4 separate regions of the Homo sapiens genome follow, and all the other regions are linked to region 3. The links are contacts of gene promoters, found by promoter capture Hi-C in human tissues and cell types (Jung and others, 2019). All regions are on one chromosome and are shown on one strand. Each heading gives the region's core, a stretch centred on a gene start or on the middle of the fragment in contact. The rest is flanking DNA. Distances are from core to core; before and after follow the strand shown. Region 1 has its middle 66 kb from the start of HGF. Region 2 has its middle 74 kb from the start of HGF. Region 3 holds the start of HGF (hepatocyte growth factor). Region 4 has its middle 110 kb from the start of HGF.

Region 1 (3,378 bases), core at 683-3,182, 66 kb before region 3:
TATTAATGAGGTAAAACATAGTAGCATTTGTCAAGTATGTTTTTTAACCTTCTTAGTGGTGACTTTTGTCATACAGTGTAGGATTTTTATTTCTATATTTCTATGTTAACAGATCTATCAGTCCTTCCCTTTCTAATGTCTGACCTAGATTTCTTTTTACAAATACAGACTCTCCCTACATTAAGTAGGAATGTTGCCATAGGAGGGAGAGGAAGAGAGAGTGGGTAATCAAAAGCAAAAGATAACATCTATTTTAAGCTTATTATCATAAGCTTAAAATAGATAAAAATAGTCTCCTGAATTTTCTTAAGATTTTATGGTTTCGTACGTAAATCTAAACCTTTAATCAAACTGGAATACATTTGTGTATGTGTGTCCGTGTGTGTGTGTATGTATGTGTGTGTGCAACATGGGAGGGGGTTAACTTCATTTGTTTGAATGTTTTTTACAGGTTTTCAATTATAATTTTATTATATGTGAAGTTATTGCTATAATTTCTTTTTATGTCTGTTCATCTCTGTTTATTTTGGCTTCTTCCTGCAATAAAAAGGGCTTATCTGATTTGTTTTATTATCTGATAGGCAGATCCTTTGCATTATACCTCTAAAAATTGCCCTATTTTCTGGAATTTATTTTAAAAATAAAATACCATATTAAATAGTTAAGGGTCACATCCTAATAGCGGAATTGTGATAACATGGAATTGTAATCATTATTTGCAAAAAAAACTTACACCTTTACTGATTAGGTCTCTCCATCCAGGCACAATATAAACCCAATAATTCACGTTTGAGTTTGTTTTTGTCATTGAAATTTTCTCTCCTTTGCTCCTTCATATCTCACTTGTTTAGTTCTTTGGTTATAATCACTAAAATTACCGTAACAAACAATTTCAAATCAATTGAACCTTTATAGGGTATCTCTATAAACAAAGAAAAATAATGAATTTAGGAAAAATAGATGGCCAGAGTAACTCTGAAGATCTAGATAGCAGCATGTGAGGGGCATCTTTAGTTCTGCACCATAAAATTGGGATGTTGCCATAGGAAGGGGAGGAAGAGAGAGTGGGTAATCAAAAGCAAAAGATAGCCTCTATTTTAAGCTTATTATCTTGATTATCAGTGTGAATCAAATAAGGCATTTTAACTTGTGATAAGTTGGTTATTTCTTGAATTAAGTAAATTTATAATTTTTAAAATATTGCTTTAATAATTTTTTTTGTATTCTTTCAATCATTGGAATCTATCTTCTTGAATTTTCTAGGCATTCAATAATATTATCTGTAGGTACTGCTTGTTTTGTCTCTTCCGTATAAAACTCATGTTAATACATATTTTCTTGTCTTATTACATTATAGAATATAACCTAATATACTGGTAATTTTCACACTTTTAAATTTCTAATTTTAACAGAAATGCCTCTAGTAGTTCATTATTCAACATGATTTTGTGCATGTTTTTATATCAAGTATATAGACTTTACATTATGGAGTATAATCCCTAATTATAAACACACACACATACACAAATGCTTTTTACCATATTAATAAAGATTATTTCAATCACTAGACTAGGATTGCTTGTTTATTTATTTATTTATTCATTTATTTATTATTTTTTTTGAGACAGAGTCTTGCTCTGTCACCAGTCTGGAGTGCAGTGGCGCGATCTCGGCTCACTGCAACCTCCATTTCCCGGGTTCAAGTGATTCTCCTGCCTCAGCCTCCTGAGTAGCTGGGACAACAGGTGTGCACCACCATGCCCAACTAATTTTGTACTTTTAGTAGAGACAGGCTTTCACCATGTTGGCCAGGATGGTCTCAATCTCTTGACCTCGTGATCTGCCCACCTCAGCCTCCCAAAGTGCTGGGATTATAGGCATGAGAATTGAATTTTTAAATTAGAATTGTATATTAATTTTTTTGAAATGCTGTTTGGGATGTATTGAGATCTAGTTGTTTTTATTGTTTAATAAAATGAGATATTATCATCAGATTGCTTTTGTTGAATTATCCATCTGCTTATGAAATAAAACCTTTTTCATGATTATTATTTCAGTAAGAGCATTAGAATCGTTCATACTTTATTGTAGCATTTGCATAGACAATTGTAAGTAGGCTTTACACATAATTTTGTTATAGCCATTTTGGTAGTTTTTAGTTTTGGAATTTCATTTCTCTTTGAATATAAACTAAGAATGTGCTTTCTAATCATTATTTTTCTCTATGCCAGGGTTTCTCAACGTTGGCACTTTTGATTATGGGGTTGATAATTTTTTGCTGTAGGGGCTGTCCTATGTGTGACAAAATGTTGAGCAGCATATCTAGCCTGTACCTACTAGAAGCCATTAGGAACACCTAACCCCACTTCCTGTCACCTTGCCCAGTTGTAACAATCAAAAAAGTTTTTCAGACATTGACAAATGTCCTTTGGCAAACAATCACCTCCGGTTGAAATCCACTGGTGTGTGTTTTGGAAAAGTTTAATGTTTTTCAAAATTTATCTAGGGGACTATTTGAACTTGGTACCTTCTATGGAGTGGCATGGGGTTGTTAGCAAGTTCTGTGAATTCTACAACTCAAATATTTAGTTAGACCACTTATACCAGATTCTTATCATTTCTGCCTGAACTATTTGATTTTATTGATTAATAAATTGTAACTAAGAGTTTTAAAATGCCGCAATTCAAATTTACCTTTGAACATTAAAATATTAACCCAGAGAATTATTTATAGAGGAGAGCCACAAGTCGCTATCCAAGTTTGCTTTACTTTGTAGATAATCAGGGGATAATTATCTATATTTCAGAAGCTTTAAAACTAGAATTCATAAGTAAAATGCTGAGTGACTAAATCAAGGTTGAAAGGGGTTTATAAAGTGAAAGGAAGAATTTCGGTAAATGTGGTAGGAACATTTGTAAAGTTCTTGGTTCAAAAATTCCAAGCATCAGCTGTAGTTTAGTGCTAAAGTGAGCAGCATGGAGGTTGATGGTAATTGAAAGGAAAGAACATTTGGAAAACGTGAACCGTGTAAAGGTCTTTTGTGAAAATTTTGGGAATGTAACACTATGCTAATATAAAACTAGTTATACAGTATACTTACATTACTGAGTATACCACTGATATATATTATTATTTATAATTAAAACAAATTTTAACTGTTACAGTACAAAGAATCACTTAACTATTTGCACAAAAAAGTAAGTGTGATATATTTAACAGAGCACCATGCAGATAAGTATTAATGCCTAGGAACTTCATCTGGCCCTGTCTGCTAGATACAGGGTTGACTTTGGGGGATGAGAGTCCTTTGCAGGGGCTGGCACATCCACCCAAGAGATAGAACAGAAACAATGGTAAAAGGCAATGTCAGACTAACA
Region 2 (3,420 bases), core at 240-2,739, 74 kb after region 3:
ATCATGCTTTTCTTCAACATTTAAAAACCTTCATATGTCACTGGGTTTCCTATGTGATTCCATCCTCAACATCCCTATCCAAAAAATCATCATTTCCTCAGCTTGCCGCAGTGGCTGCTTACGCTTTCTTATATATATATATATATATATATATATATATATAAATGTTTTATTATTTTATTATTATTTTTTCCCACAAGTTATTGGGGTACAGGTGGTATTTGGTTAAATGAGTAAGTTCTTTAGTGGTGATTTGCAAAATTTTGGTGCACTCATCACCTGAGCAGTATACACTGCACCATATTTATAGTCTTTTATCCCTCACCACCCTCCCACTCTTCCCCCCAAGCCCCCAAAGTCCATTGCATCATTCTTATGCCTTTGCGTCCTCATAGCTTAGCATCCACATATTGGTGAGAACATACGATGTTTGATTTTCCATTCCTGAGCTACTTCACTTAGAATAATAGTCTCCAAATTCACCCAGGTCACTGCAAATGCTGTTCATTCATTCCTTTTTATGGCTGTGTAGTATTCCATCATTCATATATACATATCTATATATGTATATATAAATATATACATATACACACATATATATCTCTCTCACCATATATATGTATACCATATGTATAGATATAGTATTCCATCTATATACATACACACATCACAGTTTCTTCATCTACTCATTGATGGGCATTTGGGTTGTTTCCAAGATTTGACAATTGTGAATTGTTGATGCTTTCTTTTCATTTGTTACAATAGTGTGTGTATGACTGAATTAGATCAGTTTCGATTTATTCTGCTTTGTTTTTTTAATTTTTTTTTTTTTTGAGATGGAGTCTCGCTCTGTTGCCCAGGCTGGAGTGCAGTGGCATGATCTCGGCTCACTGCAACCTCCACTTCCTGGGTTTAGGCAATTCCTTCATCAACTACCTGAGTAGCTGGGATTACAGATGCATGCCGCCATGCCCGGCTAATTTTTGCATTTTTAGTAGAGACGGTGTTTCACCATCTTGGCCAGGCTGGTCTTGAACTCCTGACCTTGTGATCTACCCACCTTGTCCTCCCAAAGTGCTGAGATTACAGGCATGAGCCACCACGCCCAGCTATTCTGCTTTGTTTCAATGTGCAATCACCTCCAGTGAGTTTGAGCTCCTTGAAGACATTTAGCATTGTCATATTAGTAATATTTGCACACTATTTTGTACAGTGCTTCACATATTATGGTATCCAATATACATTTTATAATTATTAATATTCTATAATTCACCCTCTTCTTGAAGCCTTATCAATGTTAACAAGACATTTGGGATTTTTGTAAAAATTATGCAACTCTCAATGAGGATTAAGAATTTTAAGATTTTATATTTAGTTGCATTATTTAGATTTGAATTAGTAAGTGGGGCTATTTTAAAATATTTTATTGTATTTATACAATAGACAATGCAGCTGGAAAAGAGAAATTATTAACTTTAGAGAGTTTATACATTTATATTTGCAATGCGGTTATTAAAAATAGAAATAAAAAATTAAATTTCAATTTGCTTATGGATAAATATATTGTTTTATCAAACTAATAGAGTTTAGATTATGCTAGTGAATACTTTTTCCCATCTGGAAAAAAGATTCTTCCATGAAAGGTTGATGTCATAACATTGGAGGATAAAGTTAAAGGATAAATTATTGCAAAAATATCCTGAGTCCACAATAGTCCACTCATTATATACGTGCAAATATCCAATCTGTTGTGCATTGAGAAGTTTCACAGTATCATTACTTAAGGAACAAGAGGTTTTCATTTGATGAGTTTTCTTAACTGAGAGAAATGAACATGCGTAGCATGTTGCAAGGAAATGAGGTGAACCAAAGGCAGATGGATTTTCATATTAATTATTTTTCATGTAGTTTTAAAGCTTTACAAAAGTGTGAGGTTTTCAAGTTTCTGACTTTTTAGATGAATTAAAACCTAAATGTAGTAATAGCTCAAAATATATTGTTGTGCCGTAAAACAAAGAATTTATATCCTATTAAAAATAATGAGTAATGTAACACGTGGAAAATTGACTTAATGAAATAAGTGATTAAAGATATCTAGATTAGAGAAGAGAAGGTGCAAATATGATTAAATATGTTTCTTCAGTTGTCCAAAAAGTCTTTCTGAGAGGAAATGCTCAGGTCCTTTTGGTTAAAAAAGTAAGAATTTGTGAAAAATAAGATTGACATTTCAATCAGATAGTTTAGGTACCAGGCAGTACTTCCCAATAGTGAAGGTTGCAGAATATGTGAATGAACAAGAAGAACAGAATCTCTAACTACAAACGTTTTCTAAAGAAGGAAATATTTCTTTAATGACTTTCATAAGCTTTAACCAAACTGGTCTTTTGCAGGATCCTTAAAAGCTATACTGAGAAGAACAAAATGTTCAAGGCTTAAGTAAGCTTTGGAGATGCTGGGATGCTTTATACAGGCCACTTTGCTGTGGGATAGTTAAGAGCCTTTAGATGCTCATATGTGTCTTGAAGCTCCATGAGAGAGTATGGTAGAGGACATTCTTCAGATTTACTGTATTACAGAACCCCCTTACAATTACAGAGCCAATATTTCATTTCGTCTTAAGACACTAGAGTTCTGATAAATGCAGTCCGGAAAAACTTGATTTCCAAATTTACTTTCTAAATGAGAGGCAGTTATTACTACATGGTTTGAGATTTCTATGTCTTTATAATGTACAATATGTTTTCTCTACAAAAGCATCTCACAGAAAATTTTCCCAGATCAAACTTCTTTTTTACATGATTTACTCTTTTCTACTTACTTTGAGTAAAATTCAGACAGGAGGAGTTGATGCACATTTTTCTTGACATATACGTACCATCTATAGGAACTTTCCTATCAATAATACAGAACCAAAATTGATTACACAAAACTGTGAAGGTAGTCCTATTTTAACAGTACTAAAGCTAAAAAAATTGCCTGTTTTTTAAAATCTTTCTAGTGTTTACAACATCCCCTCCTCTGCCTAAATTTCCAGCTCTAGAAACAGGGCACCAAGGAAAAGAAAGACACGTAAAGATTATGAAAGAAAATAAAAATGAAAGAAGAAAAAGGAAAAAAAAAGATTAAAAAAGAAGTTGAGGGGAGCTGGGAGAAGTTTTCTGAAGGCATTTACATGTCCTTAGAAGTGAGGTCAACAAAAAGATCTAAAGCATTATTCTTCTTTATTAGCCTCTTTCCTCTTAATTACAATCACTTGTATTTCCAAAATCCACTTACAAACCAAATACAATGAGTCATCCCAAAATTAACAAGCACAGAGAATGCAGTTCTTCCACATTCACAATGTCCCATTTTTATTCTTGTTCTTTTTACTTCTAAACTTCCTCAGTAATGTCTTTTTTATCAGCCTTATTGAGGTAT
Region 3 (3,666 bases), core at 55-2,554:
GAGAGATACAGGGGCAAGTATCCCTCAGCATCCATTAGAAATAAAGCAGGCTCTTGCTTAAAGTTACCAGAGCATCCACCTCTGGGTGCAAAGACAAATTCTCTGAATCAAGTGAGGGGTCTGGGCAATGATCTCACAAGGATTTGATACCTAGGAGTCCCCCCATGCCCATACAAGCTCCTCATCTTTCCACTTACACTTTGGGAAGCTGGCTGTCGTGTACAGGCAGATGAAGCTGGAAAAGAGAGGCATATTCAGTACTCACGAATTCAAACAGCTTGAGGGATTTCCGGTGAAAGTCAGTCCTAACCAGTGTATACGTACATACACACCAACATGTGTGAATGTGTTGTGTGCACGTGTGTGCCTGTACAAGTCCACATGGCATATTTACCTGTCAGGGACAGGCTATGGACAATGACTGTTTCTTGGACTTTCTCTTAAAAAGTCAGATCAGACAAGTTTATTTTGTATACTTTGGGTAAATGTGTGGTATTTCGTGAGTTTGGCAGTTTGTGAAAAAAAAAAAAAAAAAAAAAAAAAAAAAAAGCTGCCTGCTCTGAGCCCATGGGGCAGGGGCAATTTTTTCATCTGACAATCTGCGTGCTTTTGTTTTGCTTGCTTATTTTGGCCCCACAATACCACACCCTTTTCTTAACTAACCTCTTTCTACCTGGGCTGGACGTGCCTGGGCTCTCCTCCCTGGCCCCGCTCCCACCTCTCCCAGGTCTCTAAACCCCTAGAGAACCTGTGTCAGTGTTTTGAATCCCTCAGTTGCTCTAGCAGGAAAACTAGACAGATTAGGAGCTGGGGCACATTTGGCTGAAAGACAGCTCTTCGCTTTCTTCTTATGCTGCTTCCCCTTCCTCTTTTCCCAAATAGATATATAAACACATGTATTTTCCTGTTTAAATTGAGCGAATTGGTCCCCTGCCTGTGCCTTGATTTAGCCATTGGGCTCAGCCTTGCTCCTCCCTTCCTTACTCGGATAGGAGCCACTGGGATCTGGAGCTCCAGCTTCCAAATTGAAGCTGGCCTCAGGCCAGGTGACCTTTTCTTTGTAAGTTTCTTTCCTAAGCGTGGGGTTGGGGGGAGGCGGGGAATGGGGGGGGTTGCAGGGATCTGTTTGGTGCTGTTGAAGGGGGGGCGAGTGAGGAAAGGAGGGGGCTGGAAGAGAGTAAAGGGCTGTTGTTAAACAGTTTCTTACCGTAAGAGGGAGTTCAGACCTAGATCTTTCCAGTTAATCACACAACAAACTTAGCTCATCGCAATAAAAAGCAGCTCAGAGCCGACTGGCTCTTTTAGGCACTGACTCCGAACAGGATTCTTTCACCCAGGCATCTCCTCCAGAGGGATCCGCCAGCCCGTCCAGCAGCACCATGTGGGTGACCAAACTCCTGCCAGCCCTGCTGCTGCAGCATGTCCTCCTGCATCTCCTCCTGCTCCCCATCGCCATCCCCTATGCAGGTTAGTTCCCTTCTTCTTCTTCATTATTAGTATTAGTATTTAACTCTCCTGCTAACCTTCCCTATTCCTTTTAACACCCTCTTTTTACCCTATTCCCAGCATCCTTTCTGAACTCAGTATGTAGTATAGGTTTCTAAAAGCTCTCATTATGCTTTTTTTGACATTCTTTTTTGTTGTTGTTTGAATAGCATTTAAAATGATAATTAACTTTCCCTCAACTCCCCTCCACCTCCAACCCAAGCCCCGTCCCACTTAGCCTAATAGTTGTGGATTATGAGATAGGGAGGAAGTGCTAATACTGGCTGAACTTGGCTGCTTTGGACAAGTTTAAAGCTAAAGAGAGGGTCTGGTCTGAAGAGGCAAGAGTGATGGTCAGTCCGGCAGGAAGTCATCCTTTTCCAGAGAACAATTTTTCATGATAATGCACTACTCCACATCACCTAGTCAACATTTGGAGCCAAATTACGACTTTGTACAGGTTTTCATTTTGAGGAGGCAGAATAAACTCTGAGTATTTGCATATCATAAAAATGAAAGAGAAAGCCTCTTTTTAAAGATCTTATTCTTTCTGGGTACGGATGCCTGCCCTTTGAAACTGCAGTGCACGGAGACTTTGATTAAAGCTGCAGAACTGCCCATCTCTGTCTCCCACTTTCTCCCTTGGATTTGCCGTTTGGGGAGGAGTTGCTTGAAAGTTCATATTGCTTGGAGATTTAGAGATCTCGTTTGCTGCTCTGGGAAGTTTCTCTTGTTATCAGGGCAAGAGGAAACATCTGTATTTTGTTGTATCATTGTAGAGGCTGAGGTGCCAACGGGAGAAGGCAGTGAATATCAAGGGTAGGCGCAGGGGAATAAAAGAGTGGGAACAAATGCCCAGATGGAGACATGGCCTTTTTACAATATAAAAAAGAGAACTGGCTGTATCTTTTGAGATGGTAAATATGACATTTATCAGACCTTTGATCTAGTTTTTGATATGGTACAAGGGTTAAAAAACTCAAGAATTTTCTAAATGCAAAGGAAAATCATTCAACCCACCTGGTTTTCTTTTATTTTGTGAAGTGGCCCGTTTGGAAAATGACACTGTTTGGAAAGGGTCACTCTGAAAGCATTTAGGTAAGATTTCTGAAGAAGTGAAAAAGCAGTGAGTTCAAATCAAGCAGGTTATCATGCTTGACATGTGTCATGTTAAAATCGCTTCACAGGGTCGGGTGCGGTGGCTCACGCCTGTAATCCCAGCACTTTGGGAGGCCGAGGCGGGCAGATCACGAGGTCAGGAGATTGAGACCATCCTAGCTAACAAGGTGAAACCCTGTCTCTACTAAAAATACAAAAAATTAGCCAGGCGTGGTGGCAGGCACCTGTAGTCCCACCTACTTGGGAGGCTGAGGCAGGAGACTCTCTTGAACCTGGGAGGTGGGGGTTGCAGTGAGCCGAGATTGTGTCACCGCACTTCAGCCTGGGGAACGGAGCAAGACTCCATCTCAAGAAGAAGAAGAAAAAAATGCTTCACAGATGACTGCTGGTTTAGGGGATTTTGAGCTTAAATTGAAATAATGGCTAATATTTTGAGGGTTTTCATTTTTAAAGATTAAAATGTCACTGTTCTTAAGTAGAATCTGGTTACCTGAATTCATCTGTGCTAACGCAAGGGGAACGCAGTGTGGAAAACCCAAACAGTAGATCAACCGTAGGCAGTGTCTATTTGTTTTCGGCATGCATTATGAACTTTTGGCAGGAGACATACATTTGTAATTATATTTCACTTTGCCTAATGTAGAAATGACTGTGTTTCCTGAGTACAGGCAGAATGCAGCCCAAGAGTGCTGGCAGGCAAGGAGAGTCCAGTTGGGAATTACAAATATGCTGTGAATAATTCCTGAAGTGGATAATTCTAAAATTGTCATCAAAGGAGGGTGCGCCTTTGTTTAGATGGCCAGTTTGATAGTTTTTTTTAATAACCTTTAAAATAAAAAATATGGGTAGCCTCTTAGAACACACAAAGTTTGTTCTTTTTTAAATGACATTTAATATTGACTATTTAGAGGTTTCTTTTGTTGTTACTAGCTTTGATTATAATTATTTATTCTATGAATTTATATTTGTATGTATTGTAAAATAACACATTGTTAGGAAAGAAGTATATACTGTAAGTTGACAACCAGTTATCAACAGAATACACTATGGAGATACTTTTTT
Region 4 (3,559 bases), core at 543-3,042, 110 kb before region 3:
TTTTGTTTGTAACCTGGGCTATGAAACCTCAAAGAAAGAGGGTTTCTTGGTAGAAGAAACAATGTTTTTAGTTTTTTTTCTTTTCTTTTTTATCTGGCTGAATCCTCAGTTTTGTGGAACTTAGCAGTTATGCACTGAGGTTCTGCCCACACAGGTAGTAATTTCCTGGGCCGCGGGCTGAAAGCAAAAGACTGCACATGGTGGCTGGGACTTCCTCAGCTCTGGACAGATGTGAGCACATTTTGGCCAAAAAACAAGGGAGTGGGAGAGGGAGAGATTTCTCAGAGCAGAGCTTTGCTATTGTCTTTTGAAAGGGAAAAAAGATTATACCTCTAGGTTAAAAAGCAAAACTAAACCGCAGTTATGTAATTTTGAAAGATTCCTAAATCAGTATTGGCATTATTTGTAAAACATCAGACTTCAAAGAAATAACCTAAGAATTTCATGTGACCTCATACTTCATATACTCCATTAAAAATGCAATTTGTAAAACATATATCAAATGGTTAGTCTCAGGAGAATATGCCTCAGTAAAGACCAGACGCATGGTCTATTTCAACTGTGTGTGGCTCTTCATTTTTTCCCCTATTTCTTCACATGCGGGACAGGACTTCTAGATGAATAAAGATACGGTGTGTTTTCCAGGACATAATTATCTTTGGGCTGTGATCAAGCATGAGAAATTTCTATCCTGTGGAATAATATTTGAAAGTTATAAAATGAATGCAAGTTCATGGGTAATTCTACTTTCATATCGTAAACATACTGTAATTCAAATATATTTTCTATGGAAAATACTTAGGAATTTCTAAATTATATATTTTCTGGTAATATACAGATTTGGGATCTTCACAAAATTGTAGTGTGGCAAAAATGTTAGAGATTTTCTAGTCCAGTACTCCCATTTTGCAAACAGGTAAATAAAGACATAAATCATTTCAGCGAGGGAATGCATTCTAATGTTGTGATTAAAAACTAGCTTTCTGTTTCGGTGCTAACTCTAGCCAATTGCTAGTGTCTCTGTACTCATTTCTTCTGAGAAAGATTGAGAGGTTAAGTTCAGATTCAGCTGGAAAGGGTGCTACGATCAATTAACATCTACCAGAGACATAGGATCAGATATGAGAAAGCAAAATAGTCTTGAAATAGTTGATGGGAGTTGTTAACTAGAAAAAGCTTACAAAGTCGATAAGACCTGGCAGTAGGTCATGGTGCTACACTTTCTTTTTGAATAAGTTTAGACTCATTTCTTAACATTTCTATACCTTGGTTAGGCGCAGTGGCTCACGCCTGTAATCACATCACTTTGGGAGGCCGGGGCTGGAGGATCACAAGGGTCAGGAGTTTGAGACCAGCCTGGCCAATATGGTGAAACCCTGTCTCTGATAAAAGTACAGGAATTAGCCAGGCATGGTGGTGGGCGCCTGTGGTCCCAGCTACTTGAGAGGCTGAGGCAGGAGAATCGCTTGAACCTGGGAGGCGGAGGTTGCAGTGAGCTGAGATTGTGCCACTGCACTCCAGCCTGTCTCAAAAACAAACAAACAAAAAACACCATAAAAAGCATTTCTATACCTCAATTTTCTCGTTGGTGACGCAGGAATAAATTAATTATTGGGAAAATATTTGCTAATTTGACTAGAGCTTTCTTTACAGCACTATATTTACTTTTCAGAAGCAATGATGCTATGTTTCGTATCGGCTCACCTACTCTCCAGACTGGCTTTAGTAGCCCATGTTATGACAGTGAAAAGACACTCAAAAGAATCTGTGGAAAATTTAGTATAAACTACCACATAAAGAAAAAAAAATTTTTTTGAAAAAAGTCACACGAAAGGAAAACCTGAGAAATATCACAATATACGATGTTAAATACTACATGGGCAAGCATATTTAAACTCTGCTATGAACTACTCATGAGGAAGAAAAAGTTCATAACCAGGTGTCGTGGCTCACGCCTGTAATCCCAGCACTTTGGGAGGCCGATGAGGGTGGATCACCTGAGCTCAGGAGTTCGAGACTAGCCTGGCTGACATGGTGAAACCCCATCTCTACTGAAAAAAACATACAAAAAAATTAGTTGGGTGTGGTGGTGGGCACCTGTAATCTCAGCTACTTGGGAGTCTGAGGCAGGAGAATTGCTTGGACCTGTGAGGCAGAGGTTGCAGTGAGCTGAGATCATGCCGTTGCACTCCAGCCTGGGCAACAAGAGCGAAACTCCATCTCAAAAAAAAAAAAAAAAAGAAAAGAAAAAGTTTATTTAAAAAATAAAAAATTACACAAGAAATCTAAAGGGCCATATCATAATAAGCCAACTCTCTAGAGATTTTCCTAAGAGCAGATAAAGAAAGCATGGTCAAGTCAAACTTCTCAGAGACAGAGGTGACTATATTTTGTGCTGGAAAAACTATTTCTGCAAGACTAGCAAGTTGGTGTTCTGAGTGAACAAAACTGTAGGTAAACTAGTACCAGGACAACGAACATTACAATGGGAACTTTCGTGTTGACAACTCTGACCACATGAAATTGAATGGTGGCAACAAAATGGGAATTCCTCTCTTTATAAAGCTATAGATAAAACAGGAAAATACAAACGAGTTTTCTGCTTCTGTTGACCATGCATCTGCAGAACTAAAGAAAAAAAATCTTTCCAAATGCTTAGACTAAAATTAGTACCATCTTTGTGGCTGTCTTCAGTAACATTGATGTCTTTCTTTCATTTTAATAAATTTAGGGTTGTCAATAATGTAAATTGTTTTAGTGATAAATTTGTACTTGATTTTTTTTGTTTGTTTTTAGGCTGTGGTGTGAGACTTAGATTGTTAAAAACAGCTGTTGTGAGAGTTGTGAAAATAGAGAATTCCTAAAATGACCAAAGGCCAGGAAATATCTGTGGCTAAGATAAAGGAGTAATAATTTCCTCTCAACCCGGGGTGAAAGTAAAATGAGGACAGCACATTGTAATATTCTAGAACTGTTCAAGGCCTAAAAATTCCACAAGAAAGAATTTTTTAGAGCTGAAGAGAACATTTAAAACATAACCGCATATTTTATACACACTTGAAAACACATTTGTTCATCTTTGACTTGGCTGGTGAAATTGATATCATCATGTGTAAAGTGAGACTTTCTAACTTATATAACTTAGAATAAGAATAATACTTATTAAGTGTGTACTATATACCAGGCACTGATAATTCAACTGTATCTTGAGACTTTGCTGAAGTTTCTTATCAGTTCAAGAAGTTTTTAGGCTGAGATGATAGGGTTTTCTAAATAGAAAATCATGTCATCTGCAAACAGAGACAACTTGACTTCCTCTCTTCCTATTTGAATACCCTCTATTTCTTTCTCTTGCCTGATTGCCCTGGCCTGAACTTCCAATACTATGTTTAATAGGAGTGGTGAGAGAAGGCATCCTTGTTTTGTGCCAATTTCCAAAGGGAATGCTGTCAGCTCTTGCCCATTCAGTATGATATTGGCTATGGGTTTGTCATAGTTATTATTTGGAGATATGCTCCATGAATACCTAGTTTATTAAGTTTTTAACATGAAGCCCTGT

The links. Contacts are between HindIII fragments. The study calls those that stand out against the background at their distance.
Region 1: a contact is called between a fragment that was not itself captured here and the fragment with the promoter of HGF in region 3, in 3 of the 25 tissues and cell types used here (dorsolateral prefrontal cortex, hippocampus and lymphoblastoid cells).
Region 2: a fragment that was not itself captured here is called in contact with the fragment with the promoter of HGF in region 3 in 2 of the 25 tissues and cell types used here (bladder and small bowel).
Region 4: a contact is called between a fragment that was not itself captured here and the fragment with the promoter of HGF in region 3, in 2 of the 25 tissues and cell types used here (IMR-90 fibroblasts and lymphoblastoid cells).

The regions. Positions count from the first base shown.
Region 1 is chr7:81,834,561-81,837,938 of GRCh38, reverse strand. No RefSeq gene overlaps it. Among named protein-coding and RNA genes, the nearest start is that of HGF, 66 kb to the right of the region's middle. The HindIII fragment of the contact is 3,334 bases long and covers 266-3,378 here.
Region 2 is chr7:81,693,942-81,697,361 of GRCh38, reverse strand. No RefSeq gene overlaps it. Among named protein-coding and RNA genes, the nearest start is that of HGF, 74 kb to the left of the region's middle. The HindIII fragment of the contact is 5,057 bases long and covers 1-3,420 here.
Region 3 is chr7:81,767,685-81,771,350 of GRCh38, reverse strand. It overlaps HGF (hepatocyte growth factor), which reads left to right and starts at 1,304. Exons shown (of 18, transcript NM_000601.6): 1 at 1,304-1,467. The coding sequence starts at 1,380. The HindIII fragment of the contact is 8,838 bases long and covers 1-3,666 here.
Region 4 is chr7:81,881,637-81,885,195 of GRCh38, reverse strand. No RefSeq gene overlaps it. Among named protein-coding and RNA genes, the nearest start is that of HGF, 110 kb to the right of the region's middle. The HindIII fragment of the contact is 4,216 bases long and covers 1-3,559 here.